Linked DNA regions of Homo sapiens: all the other regions are linked to region 1. The links are contacts of gene promoters, found by promoter capture Hi-C in blood cells and fetal thymus (Javierre and others, 2016). All regions are on one chromosome and are shown on one strand. The core of a region is centred on a gene start or on the middle of the fragment in contact, and the rest is flanking DNA. Distances in the headings are between cores, read along the strand shown. Region 1 holds the start of HTR3B (5-hydroxytryptamine receptor 3B). Region 2 has its middle 41 kb from the start of NNMT. Region 3 has its middle 11 kb from the start of NNMT. Region 4 overlaps ZBTB16 (zinc finger and BTB domain containing 16).

Region 1 (5,370 bases), core at 1,569-4,068:
TGGGTCAAAATCTTGGTTAAAAAGAGAAAGTTCTGGAAGCTAGGACTAGGAACAAAAGAGAATCAAGCACTGAAAGGAGAAAAATAATAAGCAAATGGAAATATGCTTAAATAAACCAAAAGGGGAAAGAGTTCTTTGTTTAAGATGGGAAGAAATAATAAATTACATTTCTACTATGAATGCAAATTTGCCTGAGGAGAAAGATCAATTACAGGAGAGAGATTAAGGATTTAAGTGACCATTAATTAACAGTAAATTATGCCCCTTGAAAGCTAATGTGACATTCACACAAGCACTAAATGACTCACAGTTCAGTGATGTTTCAACAGACACTGATGGAAGCTATCAACAGACCCAGAAAAGATTCCTCGCCAAAACTGCCTTCTTGAATGCTAATAATCAGCTTCAAATGATTCACTTGTAAGATTTCTGGAAAGTAGAATGTGTTAGGGACTGAGCTATGAAGCACTTGCAGGTGAAGAGAGATTGAAAAGGAGGAAGATAAGAACACAGTAAAATTATTCCTGTGTTTTCCTTGTTTTAATGACTTACTCTCCCATGCACCTATCTTAAAGTGTTCAGGGCACTTTGATGGAAAGCACTATTCTTGCTTTAGTCACTATGTATCTGTAGGATTATAAGAGAGTTACACATATATCTGAGAGGTTAAAAGGAAATGAGATTTATGTATTGAATTCCTAACACTAATTGAATGCTGACTGTATGCCAGGCACCAGGCTAAGTCCTCACATGAATGATCTCCTTCAAAGTTCCCAACAAACTTATGAGACAGGTACTCTACAGCTCTGTGAGGAGTGCACTATTCCTGCAGATGAGGGACTATTGGCATAGTGAGCTTAGCACTGCCCAAGGTCATGAAGCTTGCAAGTGAAGGGAGTGATATTTACACACAGCTGGTCTGGATTCGAAGTCCAAGCTCTTAATCATGACGCTACATGATTAAGTGTAACCTGGCTCCCTGAGAATATCAGGAACAACAGCAAGTAACCTTTCAAAAAGAAGACTGACATGTTGTATGGAGTATATTATTGGACAGAAATAGCCAGTGGTATTTTCTGCATGTGTTTTCAGGTTAATAATATCTTACATTTGCATTTCACCTTACAATTTAACAATGCTGTCTTATCTGATTGTCATGAATATCCAAAATAAAGTTAGCTTACAGGAAAACTGAGTCTCTAAGAGATTAATTGACTTCCCAGGGTTACGTGGCTGGTGAGTGGTGAAGCAGGAATTAGCTGGCTCTCCTTGTTCAGGCCTCCTTCTATACCAGCACACTGCCCCCTGGGATTGGTTCCGTGCTCTTACACTTAACAAATCATCTTGATTTGTAAATATAGTAAAATACGTAAAGTAAACATAGTAAAACCCAGTACAATTCCACAGGGCAGGTCTTTCTGCAACAAGTATCCACGGAATGATTTATGGTAAAGCACTGGTTATCAGACACTATTAAAACACTTCTTTCTGCTACATTTAGAACAAAAATCATGCATAATACAAAACATTAGAGAGATATTGTTAAGAACTTAGTCTGTTTTCTTACCTTCATTTTTCTATTTTATCTTAGTTTAATGTTCACGATTATTTTCTACTAAGAAACCCATTTGGCATTTAATGACACTTCCTCTGTTTTTATTTTTTACAATTAAGATATGCTTTTATCCTTTATGTTCAACATCCAGGATTTTTATACTTTAATGATAAGTGGCTATTTTTCTTCTCTACCCAATAAAAAAATCATTTCCAGCTTCCTGGCTACCAAATTTCTAACTCATCTCTATAATTGACTCATTCCACTTCCAGTTACATCCTAAAACTTGAGAATTCAGATATGAGCTCTAGGAGAAACCTCAAGAAAGTGGGGTGTTGAGAACACCAGCATAATCATAAATTCTTGATTTGTGCGCATGTACTAAGAATCAATTGTATCCTAACTAAAATGATTCAATTCAGTAGAGTTAATACTGGTGCCATGGAAATATAGTTCTAGAAATTTAGAAAAAAAAGTATTAACTTCTAAATTACTTTTAAGAGGAATTGTAGACTCAAAACTTACCAGTTTATAGTACCTGTCTTTAGAGATATACTCATCACCTATATAGATTTTGTAAGGCGAGATGTTAAGGCCTCTAATACCAAAATGATATACATATATCTGTAGCCATGACAAATCTAGTGGACTTTTTCTCTGGGCTGCTAACAGCTGATAATGAAGCCAAGACTATTTTGGATAATAAAAACATATTATCCACACATAAAAGCAAATTTGAAAAAGAATGCCCCAAACTCTCAATCAACCTGCAGAGAGCTTGATTTCTAGAGAAGCAGAGATTTATCAAGCAATTATAACATTTCAGAGCATATTTTCAGCTATGTGTAAAAAGCCCCACAGTCTGATGCTATATGTATACGTATTTGCAATCATAGGAGCCAAGTCACAAACAAATCATTGTTTTCCATATAGCTTCACAGGACTGGCATTTTACAGACGATGAATAAAAACAAACATGCCTGAGAAGTCCTACAGTACGGTGTATACAAATATTGTCTCTATCTTCTAAGAGTTAATCCTTAATGCCTAGTAAAATTATTAAAAGGACTCACCTGCAGCCACCAGGATGCAGGCCCACAGGGGAGCCATTACACTTGACAACATTCCTGGGCAGATCCCAAAAAGGAGAAATGCAAACTTGCCTACCAGATGGAATGCCGCTCAATTTCTCCTAACAGGGTTCCTCTCCACTCTGTTCTCCTCCTTCTCCGTTTGCCAGTTGATGCTATCCTTACTGGTGCTATTTTGTAAACACTCAGTGGGACCAAAGGCAATACCAGCACCATGCAAATGTTTTGGAATTGATGCCGTCATGAAATCCCTTAACTTCTCCCTTTGGTTCTGCCCCAAGATCAGACCGTGGCCAACATTTCCATTTTCCTGACAGGAGATAGCTAAGTGAATAATGTAATCTAAGAGGAGCCCCTAAGGAGAGGAAATTCCACACTAATATGATTTCCTTTACAGCCTTTACCTAAGGCAGTACTCTTGCTGACATTCAGGACACTAATTTCATTAATAATTGAAATCCAAATAGCTGTTCTAAATCAGACTTATGCAGTAACATCTTCAGCATTTGACAGTGGTTCTTGGGCTCTTGAATTACACAAGGCTAATGGAAACCTGGTATTGTCTAATGAAGAACAACTGCAAACAATGCAATGGAAAAGTGCTTTTTGTTTTTCCTAAGCCCTTTTAATTAAAAGAAACATTGACTTTTGATAAATAGGAGGGCTTCTCAAATTTTCACTGCTCACAATTCAGAAAGTAACCTTCTAGAAAGGATGCTTCTAGGCTTATTGAAGATGAAAACAAAGTTCAACATCATTTAATAAAAGTTTTTTTTTCACTTTTTGATTGAATACGCATTCATTTTTCATTACTAAGGAACATGATGCATAATTCTATACAATAACACTATTTTCCATTTCTAGACACCCCCAGATGCTCTAGAAAGAAAAAACAAATACCATTTCCAACATCTGCCTGCTTTTTTATTAAAAATGAGATTATAGAGGCAAATTTTGATATAAATTTTCACAGAGCCAACCGAAGGGGGGAAAGTATATATTTGATTCCTATTCTCCTAATCACTCAGTCCCTTTGTTTAGAATCCATGAAGTTCTACACCTAATTTTCATCTACCAATAAAATGTAGCCTAATTGCTTTCTTACTGTTGGTGAAGGGAGTGGTATACACAGAAAGAGAGAAAACTAAGATAACCATTTGGTGTTGACTTGGTTTTGGAGGTATCAGTGTGAACCCATGGTTTTCAGTACATTTGCTAAATATATAAATAATTGCAAATAAGCTGGGCGTGGTGGCTCAAGCCTGTAATCCCAGCACTTTGGGAGGCCGAGGCCAGTGGATCACTTGAGGTTAGGAGTTTGAGACCAGCCTGACCAACATGGTGAGCCCCATCTCTACTGAAACTACAAAAATTAGTCAGGCGTGGTGGCACATGCCTGTAATCCCAGCTACTCGGGAGGCTGAGGCAGGGGAATTGTTTGAATCAGGAGGTGGAGGTTGCCATGAACCAAGATCGCGCCACTGCACTCCAGCCTGGGAGACAGAGGGAGACTCCGCCTCAAAAAAAAAAAAAAAAAAAGAAAAGAAAAGAAATAAATACAAATGTAATGTGTGTTTGCACATGTTCATACATGCATATATTCCCTAGCTCTGTCCACTTAGCAGCCTAGGAGAATGACACCCCAATAGTAACAAGCACACCTAGCTTCCATAGCTCTTCCGGTATAGTCTTGCCAAAAATTCATAACTTGAATCTATTCAGGAGGAAACACCAGATGAGACAGTGGCATACTGTGGGACAAACAAAACAGCAGGCATCTTCAAAAGTGCCAAGGTGGGCCAGGTGCAATGGCTCATACCTGTAATCCCAGTACTTTGGGAGGTTGAAGTAAGAGGACTGCTTGAGCCCAGGAATTTGAGACCAGCCTAAGCTACATAAGGATACCCTGTCTCCACACAAAAAAATAAAAGATTAGTTTAATGTGGTGGTGCACTCCTGTAGTCCCAGCTACTTGGGAGGCTGAGGCAGGAGGATCACTTGAGCTCAGGAGATAGAGTCTGCAGTGAGCTGTGATTGTGCCACTGCACTCCAGCCTGGGCAATAGAGGTAGACCCTGTCTCAAAAACAAAAACACACACACACAAAAGTGCCAAGGTTATAAAAGTTAAGGAAAGACTGAGGAACCTATCAGACTAAAGAGACACAAGCACAATATCTGATTCTGAATTGGATCCTTTTGTTATAAAGAACATTTTGGGAAGAATTGAAACTCGAATGAGGTATGTGGATTAGATGGTAGTAATGTGGCAATGTAGTAATGTTGGTTTCCTGATTTTAATTGTATAGAGATTATGCAAAAGAATGTCCTTGTTTGTAAGACCAGCACACTAAGTATTCAAGAATGAGGGAAGATCGCACACAGTGGCTCACGCCTGTAATCCCAGCACTTTAGGAGACCTAGGTGGGTAGATCACCTGAGATCAGGAGTTCAAGGCCAGCCTGGCCAACATGGTGAAACCCTGTCTCTACTAAAAATACAAAAATTAGCCCGGCACGGTGGCACATGCCTGTAATTCCAGCTACTCAGGAGGCTGAGGCATGAGAATCTTGTGAACCCAGAAGGCAGAGGTTGCACTGAGCCGAGATCACACCACTGCACTTCAGCCTGGGCGACAGAATGAGACTCTGTCTCAGAAAAGAAAAAAAAAACAAAAAACAAAAACAGGGCACATCATGTTGATCATGTCGCTAACTTATTCTCAA
Region 2 (5,370 bases), core at 1,601-4,100, 430 kb before region 1:
GTTCACAGAAAAATTGAGTGGAAGTTTCTGAGACTTCCCATACACCCTCTGCTCCCCATATGCAAGGCATCCGCCATTATCAACATCCCCCACCAGAGTGGTGCATTTGCTATCATTGCTGGACCTACATTGACACTCACCATCAGTCATTATCACTCAGCGTCCAAAGCTTACCTTAGGGTTTATGCTTGGTATTGTACATTTTATGGGTTTAAACAAATGTATAATGACATGTATCCACCATTATAGAATCATACAGAGTATTTTTACTGCCCTAAAAATCATCTGTGCTCCACCTGTTCATTCCTTCTTCCTCCCAACCCCTAGCAAGCATGGATCTTTTTACTGTCTTACTGTCTTCCAAAGTGTCTATAGCATTTTGCATTTCCACCAGCAATAAAGGAGAGTTCCTGTCGCTTCACAGCCTCACCAGCATTTGGTGTTTTCAATGTTCTGAATTTTGGCCACTCTGATAGGTGTGTAGTGGTATCTCATTGTTGTTTTAATTTGCATCTCTCTGATGACATATGATGTGGGGCATCTTTTTATGTGTTTATTTGCCATTACATGTCTTCTTTGGGGAGGTATTTGTTAAGTTCTTTGGCCCATTTTTTAATTGGGTTCTCTGTCTTCTTATTGTTGAGTTTCAAGAGTTCTTTGCATATTTTGGGTACCAGTCCTTTGTCAGGTGTGTTTTTAACAAATATCTTCTCTCTCTCTCAGTCTGCAGCTTGTCTTTTCATTTTCTTGACAGTGTCTTTGGCAGAGCAGAAATCTTTAATTTTAAAGAAGTCCAGCATATCAGTTCTTTTTTTCATGTATTGTGGTTTCGGTATTATATCTAAAAAGTCATTGACAAACCCAAGGGCATCTAGATTTTCTCCTATGTTATCTTCTAGTTTTACAGTTTGATATTTTGGTCTGTGGGGTATTTTGAATTAATTTTTGTGATGGGTGGAAAGTCTGTGTCGAGATTCACTTCTCTGCATGTGAATGTTCAGTTGTTCCAGCACCACTTATTGTAAAGCCTATCTTGTCTCCATTGTATTGCCTTTGCCCCCTTTTCAAAGATTAGTTGATTGTGTTTATGTAGGTCTATTTCTGGGCTTTCTATTCTATCCTATTGATCCTCTGCCAGTTTTTTCACCAATACCACACCGTCTTTATCACTGTGGCTTTAGGGTAGTTATAGTAATATCATAAGTCTTGATGTCAGTCCTCCAATTTTGTTCTTTTCTTTCAATCTTGTGGTGGTTATTGACTGTCTTTTGACTCTTCATATAAACATTGGAATCAGATTATTGATAGCCACAAAATATCTTACTAGGATTTTGATTTTGATTGCATTGAATCTATAGATCAAGTTGTGAAGAACTAATATCTTGACTAATACTGAGTTTTTCTATCTATGAACATGGAATATTTCTCTATTTATTTAGTTTTTCATTGGTTTCTTTCATCAGTTTTATGGCCTTCCTTATATAGACCATGTACAGGTTTTGTTAGATTTATACCCAAGTATTTTATTTTGAGGCACTGTTAATATAAATGACAATTTCTTTTTAATATCAAATTCCACTTGTTCATTGTTGCTATGCAGAAAAATGATTGACTTTTGTATATTAACCTTGCATCCTGAAACCTTGTTATAATTGTTTATTAGTTCCAGGAGCTTTTTTTCTTGATTTTTCAGATTTTCTTTCTTTTTTTATTTTGAGATGGAGTCTCGCTCTGTCGTCCAGGCTGGAGTGCAGTGGTGTGATCTCGGCTCACTGCAACCTCCGCCTCCTGGGTTCAAGCAATTCTCCTGCCTCAGCCTCTTGAGTAGCTGGGATTACAGGCACACGCCACCACACCTGGCTAATTTTTGTATTTTTAGTAGAGATGGGGTTTCACCATGTTGGTAAGGCTGGCCTTGAACTCCTGACCTTGTGATCCACCCGCCTCGGCCTCCCAAAGTGCTGGGATTACAGGCGTGAGCTACCACACCTGGCCTGATTCTTTCAGATTTTCTTTTAGACAATCATGTCTTTTGTGAACAAGATAGTTTTATTTCTTCCTTCTCAGTCAGTATACATTTTCTTTACTTATCTCATTGCATTAGCTAGGATTTCTAGCATAATGTTGAAAAGCTGTGGTGAGAGAGTATGTGTTTGCCTTGTTCCTGATCTTAATGAGAAAGCTTCTAATTTCTCACCATTAAATATGACGTTATCTGTATATTTTTTGTAGATATTCTTTATCAAGTTGAGGAAGTTCCCCCTCTATTTCTCATTTACTGAGGAGTTTTTTTTTTCTTTTTCTTTTTCTTTTATCATGAGCAAGTGTTAGATTTTGTCAAAGGTTTTTTCTACATCTATTGATGTAATCATCTGTATTTTGTTCTTTAGCCTGTTGATATGATGGATAGCCTTAATTAGTTGTCAAATGTTGAAACAGCCTTTCATTCCTGGGATAAATCCCCCTTGGTGTGGCACACAATTCTTTTTATACTTTGATGGATTCAATTTGTTAACATTTTGTTGAGAATTTTTGCATCTATGTTCATGAGAGATACTGAACTGTGGATTTTTTTTTTTTTTTTTTGGAGACAGAGTCTCTCTGGAGTACAGTGACGTGATCTTGGCTCACTGCAATCTCTGCCTCCCAGGTTCAAGCGATTCTCCTGTCTCAGCCTCCTGAGTAGTAGCTGGGATCACAGGCATGCACCACCACACCCGGCTAATTTTTGTATTTTTAGTAGAGACAGGGTTTTGCCATATTGGCCAGGCTGGTCTCGAACTCCTGACCTCAGGTGATCCTCCCGCTTCGGCCTCCCAAAGTGCTGGGATTACAGGCGTGAGCCACTGCACCCAGCCAAGATATATTGAACTGCGGATTTATTTTCTTCCAATGTGTTTGCCTGGTTTTGGTATGAAGGTGATGTTGACTTCATAGAATGAGTTAGGAAGTATTCCTTGTGCTTCTATCTTTGAAAGAGGTTGTAGAAAATCGGTGTGCTTTTTTCCTTAAACGTTTGGTAGAATTCACCAGCGAACCCATTTTGACCTGATGCTTTCTGCTTTAGGAGGCTATTAATTATTGATTCATTTTCAGTTGAATAGATATACCCTTATTCAGTGTGTATTACTTCTTATGTGAGTTTTGGCAGATTGCGTCTTTCAAGAAATTGGTCTATTTTAGCTAGGTTATCAAATTTGTAAGCATAAAGTTGTTCACAGTATTCCTTTATTATCCTTTTAATGTACATGACTTTTGTAATGATGTCCCCTCTTTCATCTCTGATATTACTAATTTATGTTCTTCCTCTCTCTCTTTTTTCTAAGTTAGCCTGGCTATGGGCTTATTAATTTTATTGATCTTTTCAAAGAACCAGCTTTTGGTTTTATTGATTTTTCTCTGTTAATTTTCTGTTTCAATTTCATTGATTTCTGCTCTAATTTTTATTGTTTCTCTTCTTCTGTTCAGTATAGATTTAGTTCGCTCTTGTTTTTCCAGTTTCCGAAGATGAAAGCTTAGGTGATTTCTTTTAAATCTTTCCTATTTTCTAATATATGCACTCCATGCTATCAATTTCCCCCTTAGCACTACTTTTATTGCACTGCACAGTTTTTGATAACTTGTGTTATTTTCATTTAGTTCAAAGTACTTTTTAATTTCTCCTGAGATTTCTGCTTTGACCCTTGTATTATTTAGACACATGTTGTATTTGTATCTCCAAGTATTGGGGGATTTTTCAGCTATCCTTCTATTATAAATTTCTAGTTTAATTCCATTGTGGTCTGAGAGCAGACACTACGATTTCTACTTTTTTTTTACATTTGTTAAGGTATATGAAGTGGTCTAGAATGTGGTCTATCTTGATGAATATTCCATGTGAGCTTGAGAAGAATGTACAGTGAATTCTGCTATTGCTGGATGAACTAGTTTATAGCTGTCCATTATTTACAGTTTATAGATGATGTTTTTGAATTTGATTATGTTCTTAATGATTTTCTGCCTGCTGAATCTGTCCATTTCTGATAGAGGGATGTTGAACTCTCCCACTATACTAGTGGACTCATCTATTTCTCCTCACAGTTCTATCAGTTTTTGCTTCATGTATTTTGATGCTGTGTTATTAGGTGCACACACATTAAGGATTGCTATGTCTTCTTAGAGAACTGACCCCTTTATCATTCGGCAATGCTCCTCTTTATCCCTAATAACTTTACTTGCTGTGAAGTGTTCTGTGTCTGAAATTGTTCTAGTTTCTTCCACTTTCTTTTGATTAGTTTTAGCATAGTATACCTTTCTCCATCCATTTACTTTCAATTGATATGAGTCTTTATATTTAAAGGAGGTTTCTTATAGACAACCTGTAACTGAGTCTTGTTTCTTGATCCATTCTAACATTCTCTGTCTTTTAATTGTTGTGCTTAAGACCACTCATATTCAAAGTGATTATTGATATAATTGGGTTAATATCTATCATATTTGTTACTGTTTTTGTTACCCTTGTTCTTCGTTTCTATTTTTGTCTTTCACTCTTGTTCTGCCTTTAGTTATTTTAATTTAGCAACTTTATATGATTCAATTTTCTCTCCTTTCTTATCATATCAGTTATACTTTTTACTTTTTTTAGTGGTTGCCCTAGAGTGTGCAATATACATTTACAATTAATCCAAGTCCATTTTCGCCAAACATTATACTGCTTCTTGGTTAGTGCTTATTATAACAAAATGATCCTAATTCCCCCCCCTTGTATCATTCTGTCATTCATTTTACTTATACATAAGCATGTGTAATAAAATACATTGTTGCTATTTTATTTTGAATAAACTCTTATTTGTTACATAAATTAAGAATATGAAAAATAATTTTAAATTTTACTTTCATTTATTTCTTCTTCAGTATTTTTCTTTATTGATGTAGAGCTGAATTTCTGACCTATAATTTTTAGTCTCTCTAAATAATTTTTTTCAACATTTCTTGCAAGGCAAGTCACTGGTAACAAATTTTTCAATTTTTGTTTGTCTGAGAATGTCTTTATTTCTCCTTCACTTTTGAAAGATAAATTTGCTGTATACAGAATTGTAGGCTGGTGGGTCTTTTTCCTCTCAACGCTTTAAATATTTCACTTTATTGTCTTCTCGCTTGTATGGTTTCTGAGAAGTCAGGTGTAATTTTTATCTTTGCTCCCTTGTAGGCAAGGTATTTTTTCTCTTTCACTGCTTTCAAGATATTTTCTTTATCTTTGATTTTCTATAATTTGAATATGATACAGCTAGGTGTAGTTTTTTGACATTTATCCTGCTTGATGTTCTCTAAGCCTTCTGGATCTGTGGTTTGGTATCTGACATTCACTTTGGGAAATTCTCAGTCATTATT
Region 3 (5,370 bases), core at 1,078-3,577, 380 kb before region 1:
AGACATTAAAGAAGACCTAAATAAATGGAGAAATACGCCACTTCATGGATGGGGGGACTCCACATGGTGAAGATGTCATTTGTCTCCAAATTGATTTATAGACTCAGTAAAATCCCAATTAAAATCCCAATAGTTTTTTGGTGAAACTTGACAAGCTGGCTCTAAAATTTATATGACAGTGCCAAGGGCCAAGAGTAGTTACTCTTAAAGAAGAAAAATAAGGTGGGAGGACTTGCTCTACCAGATATAAATACTTATTATAAAGCTGTAGTAATTAAGACAGAGTAGTATTGGTAGTAGGATTGACAAATAGACCAATAGAACAGAGTAGAGAGCCCATAAACAGACCTGTACTTTTATGAACAGTTGATATATGATTGAGGTGATAGCTTAGATCAGTGGGGAAAAAGATAGACCTTTCAATAAATAGTGCTAAGATAATTGGGTATCTGTAGGGAGGAATAAGGAATTAGAACCCCACCTCACATTATGCACAAAAAACAATTCAGGCAGATTAAAAAACTAAATATGAAGGGCAAAACTCTAAAGATTTAGAAGGTAATGTAGAAGAATATCTTTATGACCTTGGGTGCAGATAACGATTTCTTAAACCAGACACAAAAGCCATGAATCATGAATAAAAGATTTGTAAATGCTAGTATATTACAATTAAGAATGTCTGTTCGACCAAAGACACTTTAAGAGAGTGAAGAGACACTCTACAGAGAGGGAAAAGATACTACAACACATGAAACTGACAAGCAAGAATTTATGAATTCTGACAACAGAATTTACAAAGAACTTCTGTGAATCAATATGAAAATAAAGAAAACAAAAAACTTGAACAGACCCTTTCTGAGAAAGGAAATCCAAGTGACCAATAAACCTAGGAAAAGATCCTTAATCTCATCAGTGGAATGCAAATTAAACCACAATGAGATACAATTATGCAGCCATCAAACTGGCAAAAATCACATCTGACCAGCACCAAAGGCCTTGACCAATAGATGTCCTTGTGTATTTCTAGCAGGCATGTAACTTGGTGCAGCGTTATGGAAAACAGTCTGGCATTGACTGGTAGAGTTGAGTTGCTGCGTACCCTATGCCCAGTAATTACAGTCCAGGTACACACCTAGAGAAAAATCTGGCACATAAACATGAATGTTCTTAGCAGCATTGTTTGGAACAGCCCCCAACTAGAAACAACCTAAAAGTCCAACAATGGTAGAATAAATTGGAGTGTACAGCAATGAAAATGAACCAATTAGAACTACAAGCATCAGCATGGATGATTCTCCAAATGATGTAGGGCGAAAGAAGAAAGTCCCAAGAAAGACTTCCTTTTTATTCAATCTATAAAGTCCAAAAGTCCAAAACAAACAAAAGTAAATTTTATTATTTAGTGATGCACAAGTGGGTGGGAAAACTAAAGAAAAACAATGAGATAATTTCATTAGATGCCAGGATAGTGGTTGCCTGTGGGTGACTGGGGAGGACAAAGTTGTGCTCAGGTTACAGAACACAGGGGGAAGAGGGTGCTTCAAAAATCCTGCAATGCTAACCAGTGCTCATGCATTTTATATTAACCTTTATGCTCTATGTAAATGTTCTATGAACTTTTCTGTAGATGCATCTCACAATTTAAAAAACATCCTGCATATCCAGACGCAGAGTCCCTCGAAACAAGCACAAATTTAGAGATCAAGTCTACTTGATAATATTGGTCTTCCCAAGTTTCCTCTCTGAGGCAGGACCTAGTGTTTCTTTTTCACTCAATTTTACCCAGTGGGGCTAAATGGTACTCAATGGTACTAAAGGATAAACAACGATCTCTGCAAAAATGGGGCAAGGATGGAGGAGAACATTACAGAAACTGCAGCTGAAGCTTTCCTTCCAAGCTTTTCTTTCCAATGCTGGAAGAAGTCCTTCTGTGCCTCAGATGACATCAAGGCCTACTGTAGATCAGAGGGCCCCAGGATGCTTCAGAGATGACACAGACTTCTGTAGGCAGTGATCTCTCATTTGACACTCCTTGCCTTCTGCTTATCTCCAAGAAAGAAATGTACCCCTGGGTACGCCACAGCAATTAGGAGCCTGCTCCCTTCACCTCTTCCTGCTGCAATTGTGGGTGGGGTATTCACATATGTTGCAGAGAAGCAACTACTGAGCCTCTTCCTCTTTCTCTGCTCAAACCATACCTTGTGGCAGGCGTGAGTCGCCAGGAAAGAATTCCAAGGCAGAGCCAAATTAAGCAACTCCTGGAGTAAGAGGCATCAGTAATTTGGGAGCATTTCATGTGCTTGGTAATTAATAACAAATAAACAAAATTATCACCAAAACTATAACCCATCAAATTTGATGTGCTCCCGCAGGGCCTGCTCTAGATTTTAGTGGATGCATATGGTGAGTCCAGAGCTGATTAATATGAGCCTTAATTGCAGGGAGGTAGAGAACCCTTTCTTGGAGTCCACAACCTGTCAGCTTCTCTCTTTTGTCACTCTTAAGTCATGGCTACCTTTGGGGTAAAAATGAGGCTGCAGACCATAAGGGCGTCACTGTATGTACGCAGAGGGCTGCCTTCTGCCTGGTTCTCACAGTGTGCCCTCTCGTAGAGCTTTGGGTTGAAAATCCATAGCCACAAAGACACTGATTCAGCCAGAAACTCTAGTTATCTAATTATCTGGTTATCAATACTCCAGCGTCTCAAATATTTTCACTGGCTTCTAAATCCATTGTTCAGGTTACAGAAAGCTTTGAGAAGGATGCCAAGGAGGGAGGGAGAGGAAGGGTGTAAGGTGGCAAGCTTCTTGGCTAAAGGAAGAAGAAGCGTGATGGGAGAAAAGACATGTTGGGGCCAGGCACAGTCGCTCACACCTGTAATCCCAGCACTTTTGGAGGTTGAGGTGGGCGGATCAGGAGTTCAAGACCAGCCTCGCCAACATGATGAAACTGTCTCTACTGAAAATACAAAAATTAGCCCGTCATGGTGGTATGCACCTGTAATCCCAGCTACTTGGGAGGCTGAGGCAGGAGAATCACTTGAACCCAGAAGGTGGAGGTTGCAGTTAGCAGAGACTACACCACTGCACCCCAGCCTGGGTGACAGAGCAATACTCTGCTCAAAAAAAAAAAAAAAAAAAAAAAAGATGGCCGGGTGCAGTGGCTCACGCCTGTCATCTCAGCACTTTGGGAGGCCAAGGTGGGCATATCACAAGGTCAGGAGATCGAGACCATCCTGGCTAACACGGTGAAACCCCGTCTCTACTAAAAATACAAAAATCAGTCGGGTGTGGTGGCACATGCCTGTAGTCCCAGCTACTTGGGAGGCTGAGGCAGGAGAATTGCTTGAACCCAGGAGGCGGAGGTTGCAGTGAGCCAAGATAGCACCACTGCACTCCAGCCTGGACAAGACTCCATCTCAAGAAAAACAACAGCAACAAAAAACAAAAACAAACAAACAAAAAAAACCATGTTGGGGTGAAGGTGGTTGAGGACTACTTGGAAAGGAAAGCAATTCCTGAGCCTCAGCCAGGACCAGTTTCCATAGTCCAGCCACGAGGTGTCCAGGCCTGACCTACCCCTCCTATACAGTTTGTAAATTGCAGGCAGATGGCATCCAGGGTGATAGGGCCTTTGGCAGAGCCAGGTACCAGCAGTGTTGCTGTGGCAGGTGGCCAGCTTGCTGGAGATCCACATCTGCCTGGCACAGAGAGGCTGGAAATCAGGGTGGAGCCTCCCTAATATCCTGCTGGCAAAAGCTGAAAACCTGAGTGGCTTCTGTGCTATCTGCACTATTTTGCTTTGTTTCCTTTCCTCCTCGGCTTGTTGCTCCTTTGTCACATGCTTACTTACAAAACTTACTGGGACCTGATTTAGGGCTATCTGCTCTGTTCCATTGATTTTTCTTTGCTTCCTACTAATTACTGTAACGGTACGATACCTATTTAGGACATCTGTCCTATCACTACTAATGCTATACAAATATCAAGATTATGAAGTTCACTCTTCTCCCTCTGTTTATTACCTATGTAAAAAGCAAATCGTTTTATGTTCAGGGTAAAAGATGTTAGGACTAAGATTGGATCTTGTAATTCTCTTCTTCCTTTATTGTTTTGTTTAGTTTAGTTTTTGAAAAAGCATGAGGTCAGGTGGTTAAAAGAAAATGCTTATTAAATTGAAAAAAAAGCAACAAAGGCAGAATATAAGCTTTTTTAAAAATTGAGGATAGACGTAATAACCTCATGGAAATAAGATTCTGTAAAGAAAACTAAGCCTCGGAAGTAAAACAGCTGTGATTGTCAGTCTTCAATCTCTTGTCAAAAAGCTTTCGGAATGAACTGAGAATCTGTACAGTGGAAGGAAATTCACTCATATGATTATATTTTCTTCCTCCCCTTTTATTTTCCACTCTCATTTCCCTTTCATAGACAACCATCCCAAGGTGTTTGATGTCTATTCTTTATGTGCATTTTGGTAAAATGTGTGCTGCTGCTGTGTATGCATATATTTGTATTTGCATCATTTTCACTATGCATTAAAGCCCTATCACATTACGTGTGTATGTGACCCACTGCTTCATGCCACTGCATCGTTCTTCATGATTTGCACCCCTCATTTATTTATCCACACCCCCAGGAGCAGATACCCAGATTGTTTCCAACTCCCCAACACAATGATTCCAGAGACATCCATGTCTCCTTCATATAGAGACCTGTGTGAGAATTCCTATGGGGGGCATTCCCAGTAGTAGAACTGGTGAATCCTAAGGTATCCACATATTTAATTTGAGTAAGAACCACCAGATTGCCCCCAGCAAGGCTATACCAGTCTACACCCCCATCAGCAGTGCATGAGGTTCCCTGTATCGGCACACCCACTCCCATCCCTACCATCAATTTTTAGAATGATCTGCTATACTAATTTTTGCTAGTCTAATGAGAATAAGTGAAGTTGTACACTTTCTCTGATGAGTTTGAGCACTTCTAAACATGCATATCAGTATCAGTGAGATAAGCTAAGTGATGTAACAGACCTCAAACCTCAGTGGCTTAACAAAATAAATGTTTGTTTTCACATCACAGACCATGATGGCAGGCAAGGGAAGGGTACTCCCCCAGTGGTCCTTTCGGCACTCAGACTTCTTCCATTGTGTGGCTCTAAGGCCCCAGAGCCTTCCATTGGATTCTCTTCATCTAGCCCTCAGAGGAGGGGAGAGAGCTCTCGGAGGAGATTGGAATGCGAGGGTTTTGAGGACACAGCCTAAGTAGTGCCATACATTAATCTGTTAATATTCTTTGGGTCAGAATTCCATCACATGGCCTGAGGCAAGGGGGCTGTGAAATACAGCCTGGATGTGTGCTGAAAAAAGGA
Region 4 (5,370 bases), core at 2,020-4,519, 320 kb before region 1:
GCATTGAGCCCTTGGACAAGAGGGTGGAAGGGGGCGGGGGAAGCTGCCAGAAGGCACACTTCTAGGGGGCACCGGCCCCGCCCACCTCAGACAGCAGGCTGGCGGCCTGGGGAGAGTGGGGGCACCTTTTCCCCTTGGCTGGGCTCCTGTGATGCCCTGCAAAGGGACTGCTTCACTCACGACATCCTACGTATCAACACGCTCCCAGCCCCGTGCACTGTGCACTGCCCCTCTAGGCAGAAAAGGGGAGTGAGCTCAGGTCTAGGCACGGCTTCTTAACCTGGAGTCCACGGAACCCCTAAGCTGTCCAGGGACAGAATTCAGGAGATTGGTGAACTCAGAGAGGGGAAAAAAGTGACATCTTTATTTTCACCAACCTCCAACTGAAATTCAGTGGCTCCTTCCATTAGGAATATAAGCAACCAGCAAGTCATATGGGCAGTACTGGTAACTACTTGGTCACCGGTAGACTTTACAGGTATTTTCACACTGCACTAGAAATGTTGCAGTCATCTCAAAATATCATCTATGCAAGCCACTCCCGCAAAAATATGGTAGTTATTCAATTACAGCCTGATGTTATTGGTTAATGGGATAACAAAGAATCACACATATTTCTATATTACAAATGGTTTTTAAAAAATATTTTGATATTTGTATTTCAAGTTTCCATGACAATCCTATGTATTTTACTTTCTGCATTTAGAGACCTGATTCTGAGGAAGAGTTCAGGGGTTTCGCCAGACTGCCCAGGGAGCCAATGGCACAAAAAAGTTAAGAATCCCTGTCTAGGAGTCAGGGAAGGAATGGGGAGTTGGTGTTTAATGGGTACGGAGTTTCTGTTTTACGGGATGATAAGAGTTCTGGAGATACAGTGTGTGTTGATGGTTGCATGACAATGCTAATGTATTTAATGCCACTGAATTGTCCTCTTAAAATGGTTAAAAATGCAAATTTTGCATTACATATAATTTACCAAAATTAAAAAATTAAAAACCAATCCTGGTCTGAAACTACCTGTACCCTTCTGCCGCCCAGAAGTATCTAGTCCAAACTGGTATTTATTCCCTCAAACTTCTCCATCTGCAATGGAGAGCCAAACTAAATGCTTGGCCTCCCAGGAAGCAGGGAGTATGGGGCCTTGCAAAGGACACTACAGGAGGCCCAGCCTTAGTCTTCAGCTGTGACACCCACAAGACTTAGAGACTTGCTTTAAGTTCAAGGTTTACTGTCTTCCCCACCTGTCAGAATGAAAGCTGCATGAGAGCTGCGACCTCACTTCTCTTATACAGCACTCTATCTCTTGGTTCTGACAGGTGTTCAATGAATATTTATTGGATGGAGAGAAGGACGAATAGATGGATAAAGGATTGCACAAATGAATTTGATTTCTCTGGACTTCAACTCTTCTGTAACATGAGGGGGGATAGGCTTTGTGATCCTGTGAAGCTCCTATTGTTCTAAGGGGCTCCGTCAGCATGACATCCTCCCCTGTCTGCTGACCACACCTTCCCCCAGCACATGGGGCCCAGGAGGTGGATGGTGGGGGTGTGCATGGTGCACACAGGTGGGGGATACCTGATGTGCAATACTGGGGGTGATGGGCCACTGTCTTCCTGGGCCCCAGGACTTTCCTGCAGACCTCAGGGACAGCGCTGCTCCGGCTGCTGCACAAAGCAGTATCGCCTTGCTGCAGTCCTGCTGGAGTCCACTGGGCTCACCAGGCCACCTTCCCTGCCACAACAGGCTGGTGGTGATGGTGGTGGACAGGGGACAGTAAATTTATAGGCTTACTGAATAGGCAAGCAATGAGAGGGAGTCCGTAGGCCTGAGGGAGAGGCTTTTAGGCAACGTCAGGCTGCACGCAAGGGATTTTAAAGCCTGGAAGGAAGATACTGTCCTTCTTGCTATTTGGGGAGGGAGAGAGAGGAATATGATATGATAAAGAAAAATAGTAAAATAAAAGAGCACATTGCCCACTAGCATTTCCCATTACCCCCACATCTGGAACTACCCTCCTTTCAAGTAGGTTGCTCTCCTGATTCTATAAATCAGTTTCAGGGAAGGAAGACGAGTGTCTGGTAGGCATCTGGCTGGAGTTCAAGGTCATGTCAGGTGGTGTGCATGCTCCTCATGGGCAGCGTGGTCCCTCCCAACACTCTCACACATTCAGACACGCCAACCCTGGGCACTCTGAAGGAGGGTCTGGAGAGAAACCCCAGCCTCAGATGCCGACACTAAAAGGAAACGTGAAGTAGAATGTCACTTCGTGGTTTGGGGTTCTCTCCTCCCATGTGGGTTTTGTTTCTTAGGTACCTCCCCTTTCAGCTCCTCCTCTGGAGTTTTTGGGCCACTGCCTGACAGCTCTGGAGCCTGGGGTTGATGCTGGGGCAGATGGAGGCCTTAGGGCTGACTCTCTCAGGCCAACCACAGGCTGTCCAGCACCCTGGTTAGAAACAGTAGTGAAGAGAGACACCTCTGTTCTAGCTACCCAACACCAGCATCGCTTGATGGCCAAATCTTTCTGCTCTTCCTTTCTTCTGTCCAGTGCTCTTCATTTCTCTCTTTGGGTGGTGGTGCTTTATTTCCCCTGGGGAACAGCATTAGAGAGTTACTTTATGTACCCCTCACTCAGTTACTCACTTACTGACTCACTCATGCACCTCAAATTTCTTGAGTCCCAATTCTGTATAGGAATCAAACCCTGAGGCTACACAATGATAAGAAAATACTTCTTGGCCCCAAGAAGCTTACAGTCTGAGAAGTACAAAGCAAAGAGCCTCGGTGTTGAAGTCAGACCACACCTGGGTTCAAATTCTGACTCTTCCATTTATTTACTAACTACATAATCATATGCAAATCACTTAGTATCTCTGGGTCTTAGTTTCCTTTCTGTATTAGAGTTATAGTACCCACCATGCAAGGTTGCTGGGCAGATTAGAGATAATATATGAACAATGTCTATCACAGTGTCACATGATTAGGGGATGGAGAAACAGTAGCTGCTTAGAACACTGATCCAGTGGCTGGGTGAAGAAGGGTGTGGGGTACAGATATTTAAATCAGTGGGCTGTGGTGTTTTAACTTAGGTACTTCTATGGTTTAAATGTGTCCCCCAAAGTTCCTGTGTTGAAAACTTGATCTTAATGCAGCAGTGTTGGGAGGTGGGGCCTCTTGGGAGGTGTTTGGGTCATGGGGGCTGTGCCCTCACGCGTGGATTAATGTCGTTCTCAAGGGAGTGGGTTCCTTAGGAAAAAATGAATCTAGTCCCCTCTTGTGCTCTGCTCTCTCTTGCCCTCTCGCCTTCCACCATGGAGTGGTGCAGCAAGAAGGCCCTTGTAAGACGCTGGCACCCTGATCTTGGACTTAGCCTTCAAAACTGTGAACCAAATACATTTTTGTTCTGTATACATTACCCACTCTCAGGCATTCTGCTACAGCAGCACAAAACAGACTAAGACAGGTACCATGAGCTGCACTTAGGCCCCCTCTAGGAGGTGCTTATAGAGAACACTCTATGTCTTTCATCACCAAGAAGAGCTCTATCTCTACAGTGTTATATTCAAACCTCATTCCCACCTTTTAAATTCTCCCATCCAGTTACTCCCACCAAACCCATTATTTGATCTTCAAAAATCTCCCTAGAATGCCTTTCCTTTCCTTACTTCTTTCATATTCGGCCCACACTTCAAGGCCCGTCGTCCAACTCCCCACTGACTTCTGGCCAATTCCTGAACTCCCCTGCCTGGGATCCTTCAATTTCACCAGCCTGCTGTACCCTAAGCTTGGATCGGTCTAACTAACCACCTCCTCCACTCCTAGAGCTGCCTACCCACGTTGCCTCTACCTCCCAATTGCTCACTAACTCCTCAACCCACTGTAATCCCACTCCTGCTTCTATCATTCCACTGACACCAAAACTGTTTGCCTTTGATATCCAGCGACTCCCATGTCACTAAGAGCAACAGACATTTTTTAGTCTGCCTCTTAGGGGACTTCTCAGCACCATCTAAAACTGACTGCTTTTTTCTTTTTGAAACCTCTTCCTTTAGCTTCCATGACACCACACTCTTCTGGTGTCCCTCCTATTTCTTCCAGCAACTCCTCGATCTCCATCGTGGATTGGGATTGTTCTGGAGGGGTGGAATATGTTGGGGTTCCTCTGGATTCTATTCCAAGCTCTCTTCTCTTTCTATACTCTCTTGTTATATAAACTCACCCAGTTCCAAGGGCTTCAATGATCATTTATATGTTGATGACAACTCCAAAATGGACATATCCAGTGGGTCTCTCTCTTCTGAATTCCAGATACGTCTGTATACCCACATGCCTCCTAGGCACACCCTACCTTTGGATGTCATGCACACCCTGCTACTGTATATGAAAACTGTTCAGTATCCTAACGATAACAATAAAAAAAGCTCTTTTTTCTTGTATTCTTCATTTCAGTAAAGAACTCCACTATCACTCAGTTGCCCAAGCAAGAAAAGTGGGCATTATCCTAGATTCCTCTCTCACCTCTCGAAAGAGATCAATTACCAAATGTTTTCGGATTTCTAGTATCTTTTTGTGCATTTATTTATCCACCCCCTCATACAGCAACACTGGTTCAGACTACCATATTCTTTGCCTAAATGATGGCAATATTATCCCAATCTCCCTGCCTTCAGCTTAAACCCACCAGTTGAGTCAAAACCAAGTAGTCAAAGTAACTTTTCCATGACATCACCTGATGTCCCTCCCCTGATTAAGATCCTTTCATTACTTCCCTATTGTCCCCAGAAAAAGGCAAAAACTACTTAAAATGGTTTTCAAGGGCCTTTCACCATTTAATGCCCATTTACTTCTCCAAGTTCAGATCTTAGCCCTCCTCCCCACTCCCATTTTCAGTTCCATGAACTTGTCTTACTCTCTCCCTACTCTGGACATTTACCTACCTTGACTCTCAGCCTGGCATTCTTCCCTTTCTCCCCCATTCCTTCATTGTCTTAACTTCTTCTCATCCTTCAGATGACAGCTTAGATGACACCACCTCCAGGAAGCCTCCATCCAAGTTGGAGGTTGCTCACGTGTGCTCTAATAACATCCTTATACCTCCAATATAACAATATTTATCCTGTATATGACTTGCTTATTTTCTTGTGTGCCTCCCTAGAAGGCATGAAACCCATGAAGACATGGGTTCTGATTTGCTCACCACTGTATTCCCAGAGCCTAATATACTACTAAGTAAGAATGGGTGTTCAATAAATATTTACCGAATGAATTAATAAACAAATAAATACATTAAAAATAATCTATTAATACTTCTGTGGGCTTGAGCCAGAGCTCCAGGCAAGTCATAATTTTCAGAGCCTACACCATTAATAT

What was found. The method cuts DNA at HindIII sites, captures the fragments that hold promoters and counts their contacts. A CHiCAGO score of 5 or more calls a contact.
Region 2: a fragment that was not itself captured here is called in contact with the fragment with the promoter of HTR3B in region 1 in 1 of 17 cell types (neutrophils); the score reaches 5.5 in neutrophils.
Region 3: a contact is called between a fragment that was not itself captured here and the fragment with the promoter of HTR3B in region 1, in 4 of 17 cell types (total CD8 T cells, fetal thymus, total CD4 T cells and 1 more). The highest score is 5.9, in total CD8 T cells.
Region 4: a fragment that was not itself captured here is called in contact with the fragment with the promoter of HTR3B in region 1 in 1 of 17 cell types (total B cells); the score reaches 5.8 in total B cells.

What each region holds. Positions count from the first base shown.
Region 1 is chr11:113,902,244-113,907,613 of GRCh38, reverse strand. It overlaps HTR3B (5-hydroxytryptamine receptor 3B), which reads right to left and starts at 2,818. Exons shown (of 9, transcript NM_006028.5): 1 at 2,629-2,818. The coding sequence starts at 2,680. The HindIII fragment of the contact is 6,317 bases long and covers 884-5,370 here.
Region 2 is chr11:114,334,534-114,339,903 of GRCh38, reverse strand. No RefSeq gene overlaps it. Among named protein-coding and RNA genes, the nearest start is that of NNMT, 41 kb to the right of the region's middle. The HindIII fragment of the contact is 1,332 bases long and covers 2,185-3,516 here.
Region 3 is chr11:114,282,540-114,287,909 of GRCh38, reverse strand. It overlaps a transcript of NNMT not described here. Among named protein-coding and RNA genes, the nearest start is that of NNMT, 11 kb to the left of the region's middle. The HindIII fragment of the contact is 853 bases long and covers 1,901-2,753 here.
Region 4 is chr11:114,223,459-114,228,828 of GRCh38, reverse strand. The region is part of intron 4 of ZBTB16 (zinc finger and BTB domain containing 16); the gene reads right to left. Among named protein-coding and RNA genes, the nearest start is that of NNMT, 70 kb to the left of the region's middle. The HindIII fragment of the contact is 1,035 bases long and covers 2,752-3,786 here.